3 separate regions of the Homo sapiens genome follow, and regions 1 and 3 are each linked to region 2. Evidence: promoter capture Hi-C in 16 types of primary human blood cells and fetal thymus (Javierre and others, 2016). All regions are on one chromosome and are shown on one strand. Each heading gives the region's core, a stretch centred on a gene start or on the middle of the fragment in contact. The rest is flanking DNA. Distances are from core to core; before and after follow the strand shown. Region 1 overlaps USP10 (ubiquitin specific peptidase 10). Region 2 holds the start of HSDL1 (hydroxysteroid dehydrogenase like 1). Region 3 overlaps USP10 (ubiquitin specific peptidase 10).

Region 1 (4,427 bases), core at 1,443-3,942, 610 kb before region 2:
TACCGTATCATTCTGTTATTAATCTCTTATAATGATCCTAAATCCTAATCTCAGAGTAAGACCGACAGAAGGCACTCAAGATTCTCCACACTGTCTCCACAGTAGCTGACCTCATCACTGCCTACCTGATATTAGTGCTGTGTGCCTCCTTCTCTGGACAGGAGGCTCCTTAAAGACAAGACTCTCACACTTCAACTGCTCAACAAAGTCCGCACCATCTAAGGTAACAGGACTTGGTGGCCTTTTGTGTCCTCAGCCTGTTACTGCCATCCCTACTAGCTGCATGAGGCCTCCCCTCCTTGCTTTCTCCCCTCAACACCCCTCTGCCAATGATCACTTCTCCCTACAAACAGCTGCCATCTGTTCCTTTCTGATCTTATGCCTTAGACTACCCTGAAGGCAAGGCCAATCATTACTCCAACTAGACAGTGCATGGCATACAGTAAGTTCTCATTAGACAGTAATACAGGATCAATTAAACATCTGGAGATTAAAGTTGTTGGTTACGGCAAATGACTCCACTCATATTTGTTAGAAATGACTCAACAGACTTTAAAGGTCATTTAGCTCCTGGTCCAGAAAGTCTAAATGACAGCTCCTGAGAAGACGCACAGTAAAGGGCAAGGGCCCAGGCACACAAACCAGGAAGACGGGGGTTCGCGCCCTGGCTCTGCCACTTCATTCATTGTGCGGCAGATCACTCCGCACCTGGAACAGGTAAGGAGCTGCACCACGCTCAGCTATAGCAAAGATGAGCACGCATGTAAATACATAAGCAGACCACTCCCGGCATGACGGCCAGCTCAATACAGACATCAGAATCCCCCCTAGAAAATAAAGAGCTAATAGAGGTGGAAGGAGAAGGGAAAAGCAAATGAATTTATGTGAGAGTCTGAGAAAACCAACAACTTTCAGCATCCCAAGAGGAAATGTTAGCCCAACTTCCTTAAAATCTTGACAAGTTTTAAACATCTTGACATATTAAAGATATATTAATAAAGTTCTATTTCAGGCAACACTTTGGGAGGCTATGGCAGGAAGATCACTTGAGTCCAGGAGTTCCAAGATCAGCCTGGGCCACACAGTGAGACTCTGTTGCTATGAAAAATAAAAAATAAAAAATAAAAAAATTAGCTGTACATGGTGGTGCCTGCCTATAGTCCCAACTACTCAGGAAGCTGGGGCAGGAAGACCACCTGCGCCTGAGAGATCAAGGCTGCAGTGAGCTATGATCATGCCACAGCACTCCAGCCTGAATGAATGAGCAAGACCCTGTTTCTTAAGAAAAAAAAAATACGTTTTTAAAAAATAAAGCTCCATTTTAAGAGGAATGATTGTAAGAAATGAAGATTAAATACTTATTGTCAAAGATTTTCTCTTAAGATCCAAACACTCAAGAAACATTTAAGGTCCACTTTTGTAACATCTCACACGTACACTAAGCCTTCCATCCTGACTCATTTCGATAACCATCAACTGGAGGAGACACTAACGCTTTATGAAGTTCGTGAGCTCCTCTTCTTCCTCGCAGTGAAAAAAACAGGGGTGCAAAAGCAGTTCTAATTCCTCCTAAGACCAGACCGAATTATGTTCAAGTGAATGAATCCTATTGTTATCATGCAAAAGTCAGGTCTTACGGACAAGCCAGAACTAATACCACTTCCAAATTTCTAATATCACTCTTCGCTCTATTTAAATTCCTCTTTCAACATCAACATTTTCATTTACAATGTTATTCCTAGCCTAAAGTCCAATACGCATTCCAATTATGGAGGCTAAAAGAATAAAAATGAGGAAGGCGGGCCACCAAGGATAGAGGGCAGGCAACTTCTAGGTTGAAACTTGACCTGCATTCCAAAGTCATTGCCATTGGTGTATCTATTTTACCTTCTTTAAGGGCATATAATAGAAGTTGGCTCTAATAACAAACTTTCCCCAGAAGCCTTCTTTTCAATTCATCATGGTTGGTATAATTTACTACTTAACTGTTCAGACAGCAACTTTAGGAAGATGGCCTCCCCCAGTCCATCTTTGTCACAGGAGTTGGTGGGGCTGCCTAGAACAATGTGTGAGAAAAGGCACAAAATGCCAGAATGACTCATAAAAGACACAAAATTGAAACCTGTAGTTCACTTTTGTAATAACTCACATGAAAAGGCTGAACTGAAATTTCACTCTTATGAAATCTGCTGACATACAGAAAAATGGAGTTGCTTAATAGCCTTTTTTCAAATTTTAAGACATACATGCTAGATGGTAGCTCACAAGGGCTGCCACAAATCAGCCCACTGAAATTGTTTATCAACTCAAAGGCAATACCAGCATCGTAAACTTTTATGTCATCATAAGCTATGATTATTCTTACACATATTTTACACATCAAATTCTGTTTTCCTAAAATTAGGACTTAGGGGTCATATTAACATTGAAAATCCCTGAAAATGCAAGGTACAGAACTCTGATTCTTAGGGCTCAATAACTGGCCCGTAATCGACATTCTGGTGTTGTTGACCTGCTTTTCTGTCATCATTCTAACTGTCCAGAACATTCTCCAAGTGCTTTTCTTTTCCTCATTACCATCAATTTGGAAGAACACACACTATCTTGGTTATCTAACCAGGTGGAGGACAGCAAAGTGACCAAAATGTACCACTACCCATTGACTACAGATCAACTTATGTTTCTGAAGTGGAAAGATGTATAATAAATGTGAGGCTACAAACATCGAATCAGATGTGGACTAAACTCTCAGTCCACAAGGGTGGATCCCGGTAAACAGGTGCCACGCCTTTTTAACTTAGATCACGCCGCATGACCACTGCCTGTGTACTTCAGAGTTTGAAGAGGAAGTGCAAAATATCTGAGAAACCATTTCCCCCAAGGAGCGGGGGGAAATATATGCATGATTTATAAACTGCCAAAATAAAGATCAGTTTTAGGATACACAGCCATGCTTAATGATGGGGATATGTTCTGAGAAATGTGGCATTAGGCAATTTTGTCATTGTGGGATCACATGCCTAGATGGTATAGCCAACTACACACCTGGGCCATATGCTAGAGCCTATTGCTCCTAAGCTACAAACCCGTACAGCATGTTGTGTACTGAATACCGTAGGCAACTGTAACACAACTCACTGGTCACTAGAAATTGTTTAGCTCCATTATAATCTTATGGGACCACTGTCGTACATGCGGTCTGTTGTTGACTGAAACATCATTAAAGCAGCACATAACTGTATGTTCATTTACACTTAAATAAACACGGACAGGGTAATTCATTAGAGAAGACCCAAATTGTAATAACTTTGTTTCTTGATCCAATGCCTTTTAGGTATAAAACCACTGTGAAAAATCATATAAACAGGTTTTGACTAACAATTCATAATAAATGACATTGCTAGATACCTCAACGCAATGTTTTCAGAGCTGTTCAAGAGCTCAGTTTTCCTAGTTCTCTCTCACTGGAATTTTAACTTATCGGGCAGTTGGCCACTCTTCTTACCCAGCATTATTTATATTCTGTTAAAACAAAATATACTGTTGCATAATTTTGAAAGCAAAACATCAAATACAAAATGGCTCTATTTGTGATGTGAAAGCATCTGATACAATTTCGTCTAGTATATGAGGAATGTTCCTTAGTAAAGACCCAGGAAAAGTACAATGTTCAATGAAAGCATACGTTCAATTTCAAACGTCACATGTTCGTCAACTCCAAAGTATCTGTGCTAATGAGGGAAGCAGCAGCAAAGGCACTCCCCACGTGTCTGCCATACTCACTCTTAACAAGGGTGTCGCGTTTTGCAACTACTTTCAAACACAAGCTATTAAGTTTTGGGTTTTTTTTTTTTTTTTTGAGACAGTCTCACTCTGTGGCCCAGGCTGGAGTGCAGTGGCACGATCTGGGCTCACTGAACCTCCACCTCCCCGGTTCAAGCTATTCTCCTGACACAGCCTCCTCAGTAGCTAGGATTACAGCCATGAGCCACCACGTCCATCTAATTTTTTTATTTTTAGTAAAGATGGGATTTCCCTATGTTGGCCAGGCTGGTCTTGAACTCCTGGCCTCAAGGGATCCACCCACCTCAACCTCCGAAAGTGCTGGGATTACAGGCGTGAGCCACTGTGCCGGGCTGTATTAAGTTTCCTTTTGTTGACTCCTACTGATAAATGGCAACCATCTCCTCTCAGACCAGTCACTGAAACACAGATCCCTCTCCAACCCTCGGCAAGACAGGGCTTTTGTGTTTAGATACATCCTTCCCTTGGGGCTAAAGGAAATCACTGAGTATTCAGTTCACACGCTCTCCCCTGGCGTGTCCTTCTCCTTTCAAATAACAGTTCACACTTGAAAAACAGCCAATGGAACAAAATGTTGACACATAACCTACACCGAGGAGATGGCCTTGCCACCAAGAAGGTCC
Region 2 (4,444 bases), core at 1,769-4,268:
AGTGCTTGCAAGAATTCATATAAAATTCTGGACAAGGGAGGAAAGGAATGGGATTAGAAACGGGGTGGGGTACAGGGGAGAAAAGGAACACCAACTCTATGTGAAATGTTTTATTTCTTTTTTTTTTTGGAGACCGTCTTGGTCTATCCCCCAGGTTGGAGTGCAGTGGCGGGATCTCAGCTCACTGCAACCTCCGCCTCCCGGGTTCAAGCGATTCTCATGCCTCAGCCTCCCAAGTAGCTAGGATTACCAGCGCCTGTCACCATGCCTAGCTAATTTTTTTGTATTTTTAGTAGAGACGGGGTTTCCCCATGTTGGCCAGGCTGTCCTCAAACTCCTGACCTCAGGTGACCCACCCGCCTTGGCCTTCCAAAGTGCTGGGATTACAGGCGTGAGCCACCGTGCCCACCCTTATTTATTTTTATTTTTTTTTTGGGGGGGGCTTATTTCTTTAATTAAAAAAGACTTCAAATAAATATGATAAAATGTTACTCATTTTCAATTCTTGCTGGCAAAACACGGGTATTTGTTTTAATGTTCTTTGTTCTTTTGTCTTTTAAAAAATTTCTGAAGCCAGGTGTAGTGGAGCATGCCTGTAGTCCCAGCTACTCAGGAGGCTGAGGCAGGAAGATCTAGCCTGGGTAACATAGTGAGATTCCATCTCTTAAAAAAAAAATCATAAAAAGGAAAATCACATGAAAAGAAACAAAAATAGTGAGAATATCTATGATAACAATAACATGAGCACATTCAAATGAATAATTTTTTTAAAGGTCATTCAAAATTGGCCAATTCAACCGCACTTAACTTTAAGAGCTGTTGTCTGCTGCTTTCTGTGTTTGTGTGGTCTATTGAACAAGACTAAAGGCTGTGCGTGTGGGGACTGGTTCTTAAACTCATCAATTTTGCATAGAATGCCCAGCCACAGGAAGCAACAGATAAATGTTTGTGGAAAAAATAAAGAATAAGCGCTCAATATATAAATATTAATATGTAATTAATAACAAGAGCTACCATTTAATAATGGCCCACTATATGCTGGGACATTTAATTATAATTCTCTCCTTATACTCCTGTATAATTATTCCAGCTTACAGATGAGGAGACTAAGGCTCCGAGAGGTTAAGCTCTGGGCCAACAGCCATAAAGCTGGCCAGCTGCTGAGCCTCAACTTGAACCCAGTGTCAATGGCTCCAAGACCAGTGTCTTTCCACTGAGTAATGCCAGTTCCCTATGGCTCCTCATACAAGGTTCATCTGGACAGTTGATGCTTAAGATATATTTGTTGCCTGGAACACAAATCAGCTGGTTTATTTGTTGCCTGCGTTCAGAAACTGGAACACAAATCAAGTGGTTTTTTAATGTAATCACTAAAAGGTTTCCTTTAGGGCACCAAGTCTAGTGGGAGCAGAAGCTGAAGCCAGGCTTCCTTCTTTCCTTTTTTTTTTTTGAGACGGAGTCTTGCTCCATTGCCCAGGCTGGGGTGCAGTGGTGTGATCTTGGCTCACTGCAGCCTCAGCCTCCCCCTTGGCTCACTGCAACCTCTGCCTCCGGGGTTCAGGGAATTCTCCTGCCTTAGCCTCCCAAGTAAGTGGAATTACAGGAGCACGTCACCACGCCCTGCTAATTTTTGTGTTTTTAGCAAAGACAGGGTTTCAATATGTTGGCCAGACTGGTCTCGAACTCCTGACTTCAGGTGACCCACCTGCCTCTGCCTCCCAAATTGCTGGGATTACAGGCGTGAGCCACCGTGCCTGGCCATGAAGGTTATCTTTCAAGTCCATTCTGGCAAACTTTGGTGAGGGGATCACACACTGACCCCAGAACCAAGTCTTCATTCGGACTCTCTACCCTAGGTCAGGCACTGGACTAGACTCCAAATTCAATCAAGATGTCTTGCCCTGACACAACATGCAGTCTGGAGGGAGAGAAAGCCTTTGATCTTACATAGTGATAGCAATAAAGGGACACATTTAAAGCATCAAAGTTGGGACCAGGGAGAATAGCGTGGTGGGTTAGGGCTGGGGCTCTGGAGACCCAGACTGTCTGGGCCTGAGTCTGGTGGGTTTTGTTTGCTTGTTTGTTTGTTTGTTTGTTTGAGACGGAGTCTCCCACTGTCGTCCGGGCTGGAATGCAATGGCGAGATCTTGGCTCACTGCAACCTCCGCCTCCCGGGTTCAAGCGATTCTCCTGCCTCAGCCTCCCAAGTAGCTGAGACTACAGGCGCCCGCCACCACGCCCAGCTCATTTTTTGTATTTTTAGTAGAGACAGGGTTTCACTATGTTGGCCAGGCTGGTCTCGAACTCCTGACTGACCTGATGATCCGCCCGCCTCGGCCTCCCAAAGTGCTGGAATTACAGGCGTTGAGCCACCGCACCCGGCCAAGTCTCTTCTGTCACTGACTAGCCGAGGGTTATCTGTTTGGTGCAAGTTTTGTAACCTCTTAAGTATGTTTCCTCCTCAGTACGAAATGGCGAGAGAAGCCCCTACTGCAGAGCGTTGCTTGCTACCATTATTATTATTGTTATTATTTGGCTGTGAAGATCGGGTATGTGGTGTGGGAAGGGGGCTGGAGCGCCTAGCCGTGTCTGCCCCTCGCCCACCGCCCTCCCTGGGGGGCAGTCGGCACCTTCCTTGCAGCCCCCTCGGCCTGCGCTCCCGTGGTCACCCGCAGACTCCTCCACGCCGGGCTCCTGCGCGCAATCCAGCTCTGCTGCACCACCTGTCGCAGGCTCCGAGGGCTCAGGGTGCATGTTTACTTCGGCGACACCGAACGCCCCGCAGCTTTGGGGGGCCCAGGTTCGCGGCGGACGTCGCTACGGCCCCAGCCCAGCCAGAGAGTACCCTCTTTCCTTCTTCGCCAGCCGCTGGCGCCCTAGTCTTTACAGCCCAACGCTTCCCCGGTCGCCCAGGCAACCGCTGCGCACGCGCACTCGGGACGGACCGGCGCGCTGGGGACGCCGGGGGGTGGGGGCGGGTCTGAGACGGCTCCGCCCCCGGCGCGTACGCGGGTCACGTGAGGGCGCGGCGCGGCAGCAGCTCCGGCGGCCGAGACGGGGGCGGCGGCCGCGCGGGTCTGGCGGGACCGGTTTGGAAGACTTTGCCGGCCTGCAGGTACCGCGCCCCCCGCGCCCTGGGCGCCCTCTCGCGGTCCTTTCGCCCCAGACCCCTCCTCGGTCCCCTCAGCGCCAGCCGGCTGCTTGGCGAGACCCCTCTGAGCTCTCACCACGCCCCCCAGGCCCCGGGCCCCCTCCGCTGCATCCGGCCCCGAAGCCCCTTGGCGCCCCTGACCCCAGGAAATCTTCGTCCCTCCGTCCCGTGAGACTCCTTCCTTCAGACCAAAAAGCCCCAGCCCCGCCCCTTCACATCTCAGAGCCCCCCTTCCCCCGGCTCCATCCTCACGCCCCCCGCCGCGGCGCTGCACCCCTGTTCTCTCTCTTCCCCCGGGCCTTGCCCCCCAAACCGCGAACCCCGTTGTCGCCGGCGCATGCCCTGCCCTCCCTGCAGCCTCTCACCCGGCTCCTCCCCCGAGCGGCCCCAGCAATCGCCTCCTTTGTCGGTGCTTCTTTATTCTCATTTCTGAACGATTTGGTTTGAGTTGTTGTTGCCGTGTTTTTCTAAAATGGAAATATGCAGCGGTCGTGGGTTCAGCCAGGATTTCCGAGTTTGCTCGTGTTGACTGGGCCTTGCCGGGTGCTGGAGGGGAAGGGCTGGGAAGAAGAACCAGGCAGGTCCCCGTTCTGAACGTGCCACCCAGACGCAGCCCCAGAAACCGGATCGCTGCAGCGCCCCTCGGCGATCCCAACATGATGTGTACAGGTGACTGCGAGGCAGTCGGGGGGTCTCACAGTGGGCTCCCTGGACAGGACTCTGCGCCTTGCTATACCTCCATCTGAATTGCAGGTAGCCCCTTTCTGAGTTGTGGGGTCTTGGGTGTGCGACTTTACATCTATAAGACTCAATTTCCCCATCTATAAACGGGAGAGTCTGACTGCGCTTTATAAGATTAATGAGAGAATAAAGTGAGACAATAGGAATAAAGCACTTAGCAGAGTCTTTTGCATAAAGTGAGCTCTCAATTTTACTCTGACCGCCACAGGAGAGAGAGAGAGAGAGAGAGGGAGGGAGGGAGAGGGAGAGGGAGGGGGAGGGGGAGGGTGTTGATTGATTGATTGATTCAGACAATCTCGCTCTGTCGCCCGGGCTGTAGTGCAATGGTGCCTGCGATCTCAGCTCCTGCTACCTCTGCCCGCCATCCCGCACCCCGGGCCCAAGTGATTCTCCTGCCTCAGCCTTCCGAGTAGCTGGGATTACAGGCACGTTCTACCACACCCAGCTAATTTTTTTTTTTTTTTTTTTAGTAGAGACGGGGTTTCGCTGTGTTGGTCAGGGTAGCCTTGAACTCCTGGCCTCAAGTGATCTGCCCGCCTTGGCCTCCCAAAG
Region 3 (4,076 bases), core at 630-3,129, 560 kb before region 2:
AAACAGGAAAACTGCAGTCCAAGCACATACAAGTCTCTGGAAATGAACATCTACACTGCTGAAGTGGCACTAAAGTGACAAATGACAGTAATCCAATGGCCCAAGGCCAGCAAATTCCATTGCAAACAGATTTATCTGTTTTGTGCGATGGTGATTCTTGCATGTGTGGCAGTAAATAGAAAAGTAACAGCCTAATTACAAATTCAAAAGCAAGCTCTTCCCACTACGTTTCATATTTTGGTATAGTACCAGTAATAAGTGTCCTCAGCAACCACGTTTAATGTGCCACCTGAATACCAGGAACCATTAACAGGAAGTACCTACATGTCTGAAATTATATCTTTAAAAACAAACAAACAAACAAAAAACCGAAACAAAAACCCTGATGTAACTAATTCAATTGGAGATGATACCACTTTTCTCAATTACTTGAATGTTATATTCTGAGCACAGCACAGTGCAACGTGCCGCTTAGGCTTGGCATTAAACAGCAATCATTAAGCTTCGTAATCCTTTTCTCCTTTAAGTTTTCCTATGTGAATCACTGCTTAAATCCTATCAGTTCCACGTAACAGAACACTGGAATACATGTCCTAACTTTTGCTTTAGTGAGGAATTTAGAATGTGGTAGGCCCGCTTAGTATTCACTGGAATTTCAGTGCGCTGTGCTCTCAATGAGATGGGCTCAAGAGCATGATGGTGAGGTCCTGGTACGGCGCGGCTGCTCAGGCCATCTGTACAAACCACTAAGGCGACCACTGGCTCACAAACTTCTCAGGCCATCTGTACAAACCACTAAGGTGACCACTGGCTCACAAACTTAAAACATCTACTCTTAGGACATGTTTAAATAGCTTGCTGTCACTATGCAAAGGAAAACTGTTATCTCCAAATGCCCTGTCAACATTTCAAACAATTGTATTTACTTCAGCTGCTCATTACTTGAGATTCTAATAAAAATGTATCTCTTTTAAGAATTAACACTAATCCAGCTGTTGGCTAGAAACAGATATTCAGCAATACAGTAACATTCAGCCATATGCTAGAGGGGGAATCCAAGACTTTCCATCATGTAAAATGTGGAGGATCTGCTATTACAAGCTAAAAAAGAGACTGGGGTGAGTCTATGCAGAGACAAGGACAGAAGCCAACTGCATGACATTCAAATTGGGTGTAGGAAGCATTATTGTGGAGATTTCACTATAAATGACATCAATAATCACAAATATTTTTTCGGTGTAAGGCAAAACTAATAGCTTCAAATTAATTACCCCAAATAATTTAACCGGTCCCCTCAGTGACAAGGATATTCACTTGGACCTACACTTCAACTGTTAAAGTTCATTTATTTGTCTTTGCTAAAATGCTGAGTTACCGGTCTCAAAATGTTTCCAAATTCTTCACTATTACACTTCAATACAGGTAACAGGGATCAACCAACACTTTCTAATATTTGGAAATAAGGTTATTAACCTATAAACTTTTTTATTTATTTTGAGATGGAGTTTCGCTCTTTTTTTTTTTTTTTTTTTTGAGACGGGAGTCTTGCTCTGTCGCCCAGGCTGGAGTGCAGTGGCATGATCTCGGCTCACTGCAACCTCCGCCTCCCGGGTTCAAGCGATTCTCCTGCCTCAGCCTCCCAAGTACCTGGGACTACAGGCGAGCTTCACCACACTCGGCTAATTTTTGTATTTTTAGTAGAGACAGGGTCTCACTATATTGGTCAGGCTGATCTCGAACCCCTGACCTCAAGTGATCCACCCACCTGCGCCTCCCAAAGTGCTGGGATTACAGGCACGAGCCACCGCGCTGGCCTGTAAACATTTTTAAACTGTAACTTTTTCCACCTCCCATTATTCTCAGTGACAAATTTAACTTTAACAAGTCAATTTTAAAATAAGACCTTCAATTTGCAGTTGTTATTCCCAACATAAACAAGTAATATACATACCATGACGCTTAATATCTGATAAACAATCAGTATTTGCTGAATGAATGAATGGCCATTAAGGCTGCAAGACTCTTAGGACAGTAGGCAACCAAGTAAAACAAATTTATTAAAACGCTCAGAATGACTGGAGCAGGAACCAGTAACTAAATCCTGTCATACATGATTCCATTACTTGTTTGCATTACTATTCTTTTAAAATGAAAATTATGAGAAATCGGCCAGGCGCAGTAGTGGCTCACGCCTATAATCCCAGCACTTTGAGAGGCCGAGGCGGGTGGATCACCTGAGCTCAGGAGTTTGAGACCAGCCTGATCAACATGGTGAAACCCGTCTTTAATAAAAATACAAAAAATTAGCCAGGCATGGTGGTGGGCGCCTGTAATCCCAGCTACTTGGGAGGCTGAGGCAGGAGAATCGCTTGAACCCGGGAGGCAGAGGTTGCAGTGGGCCGAGATCATGCCACTGCACTCCAGCCTGGGCGACAGAGCAAGACTCCCGTCTCAAAAAAAAAAAAAAAAAAAAAAAAAAAAGAGCGAAACTCCATCTCAAAATAAATAAAAAAGTTTATAGGTTAATAACCACAGCACTCCAGCCTGGGCAACAAGAGCCAAATTCCAACTCAAAAAAAAAAAAAAAAAGAAGAAGAAAATTATGAGAAATCAAACTATTTCCTTTGCTACTTTCTCCATGCTAAAACTTAAAAGCATTTAAATCATACTTTAAAAGAATAAACCCAAAGTGTTGCTAACATTTACGTTCCGCCAACTTTTGCTACTCCAATTTTCTAAAGATGTGTATAACGCTTTAGACTGTTGTATAAAACGTAAATACTGGGACAATGAATGCAAACGAAATTACAATTAAGTTTACATATTATCCATCCCCATTAATTAACATTTCAATCAACCTTGAATTGTGATTGATGCTTATTAAATAAAGGAAGTGAGCTATGCCTAAAGATGCTTTCTTCATGTCAAAATCACAAGGAATATTACACATTAATTCATAATGAGCCTTTTACTTGTTCATACCAATTCTAATAAGCTAGTTAATTAGGATTTAAGTTGAGAAAAAAGCAAATATCAAATCTTTTTTTTTAACAGAAAGGTCTAAACAAAGCTAAATACACCAAATCTCTTAAAATCTTTGGGCTATACATTTGTAAAAATTATTCAACTACTGATCCCTTTTTTGGCGCAAAGACCTACACTACTTACAAAAGTAAATGAATAAGGGAACAAAACGTTAAAGGGGGAAATTCTGATGCAAACTAAACTACAGCTAATTTAACAAAATTGAAGCTTGTCGTAAGATCTAATTTTTTAAAAAGTTTTCGCATTTTAGATTCCACAACACGCATTCATTACAATAGTTCCGAAAATCATGTTTCAAAAGAGGTGTAGTCAGATTGACTTCATCTGCAGAAGGGCAACAAAACCCAATTGCTCATGAAGGGTTATGATTTTACTCGCAATCAGTTTCCCGAATGGCTACTTTGTTTCATTTCCCCATATTTAATACAAATACACAATGAGATGGTTTAAAAGTGTGCAACAATTTATAGGGACCAGATGTCAACAAATTAGCAGTCTAAAGCAAGGCTGACAAATAATACATCATGCCGATTTTTGTCCAGAATAATTATAATGGCGGAGGGGGGAGAAGATGTGAGAGAAGGGGTGGGAGAGGGGAATAAGAGCTTAACTCTACACGCACATCTCCCAAAAAGAGCTCTTTCTTTCCACCACGGGATTATTGTAAAGGGCCCCCAAGCTTTAGCTACTGTTCAGGCAGGGTGCGTTAGTTGTCAGCCTGGCTGGGATGGATTCGTGCAAGGGATGTCACTCAAACGCAAGTGAAAGTACGGTCCTTGCGACTTATTTCGAGTTTTCTTTGCAACAGCAGCCCAAGGCCGCTACTCTGCTACTTCTATCTAAAAAACAGAAAATCGGCAACCCCCGCATCATCAATCAAGCTGAGAAAGGAAGCTCTTGGGGCAAAGGGGCAACAGGGCACCCCCAAATCTCTGAGGCTCGCTCCAGGCAGAGGCAGCAACCTGAGCTGCTCTGGGGCCCCTGCGCTCCAGGGGACTCCCGGAGCCCCCGGGCCGCCTCCCCCGGCCGGC

Evidence for each region. Contacts are between HindIII fragments. The CHiCAGO score rates a contact against its expected background, and 5 or more counts as called.
Region 1: a fragment that was not itself captured here is called in contact with the fragment with the promoter of HSDL1 in region 2 in 2 of 17 cell types (total B cells and naive B cells); the score reaches 6.1 in total B cells.
Region 3: a contact is called between a fragment that was not itself captured here and the fragment with the promoter of HSDL1 in region 2, in 1 of 17 cell types (fetal thymus). The highest score is 5.0, in fetal thymus.

What each region holds. Positions count from the first base shown.
Region 1 is chr16:84,749,837-84,754,263 of GRCh38, reverse strand. All of the region lies in intron 4 of USP10 (ubiquitin specific peptidase 10), which reads right to left. Among named protein-coding and RNA genes, the nearest start is that of USP10, 52 kb to the right of the region's middle. RefSeq lists an enhancer at 1,973-2,052. The HindIII fragment of the contact is 5,744 bases long and covers 1-4,427 here.
Region 2 is chr16:84,143,751-84,148,194 of GRCh38, reverse strand. It overlaps HSDL1 (hydroxysteroid dehydrogenase like 1), which reads left to right and starts at 3,018. Exons shown (of 6, transcript NM_031463.5): 1 at 3,018-3,115. DNAAF1 (dynein axonemal assembly factor 1) reads right to left here and starts at 2,887. Exons shown (of 12, transcript NM_178452.6): 1 at 2,631-2,887. The coding sequence starts at 2,754. RefSeq lists silencers at 2,834-3,283, 3,444-3,493, 3,544-3,593. The HindIII fragment of the contact is 7,366 bases long and covers 1-4,444 here.
Region 3 is chr16:84,700,451-84,704,526 of GRCh38, reverse strand. The region is part of intron 1 of USP10 (ubiquitin specific peptidase 10); the gene reads right to left. Among named protein-coding and RNA genes, the nearest start is that of USP10, 2.5 kb to the right of the region's middle. RefSeq lists a silencer at 3,956-4,065. The HindIII fragment of the contact is 2,750 bases long and covers 505-3,254 here.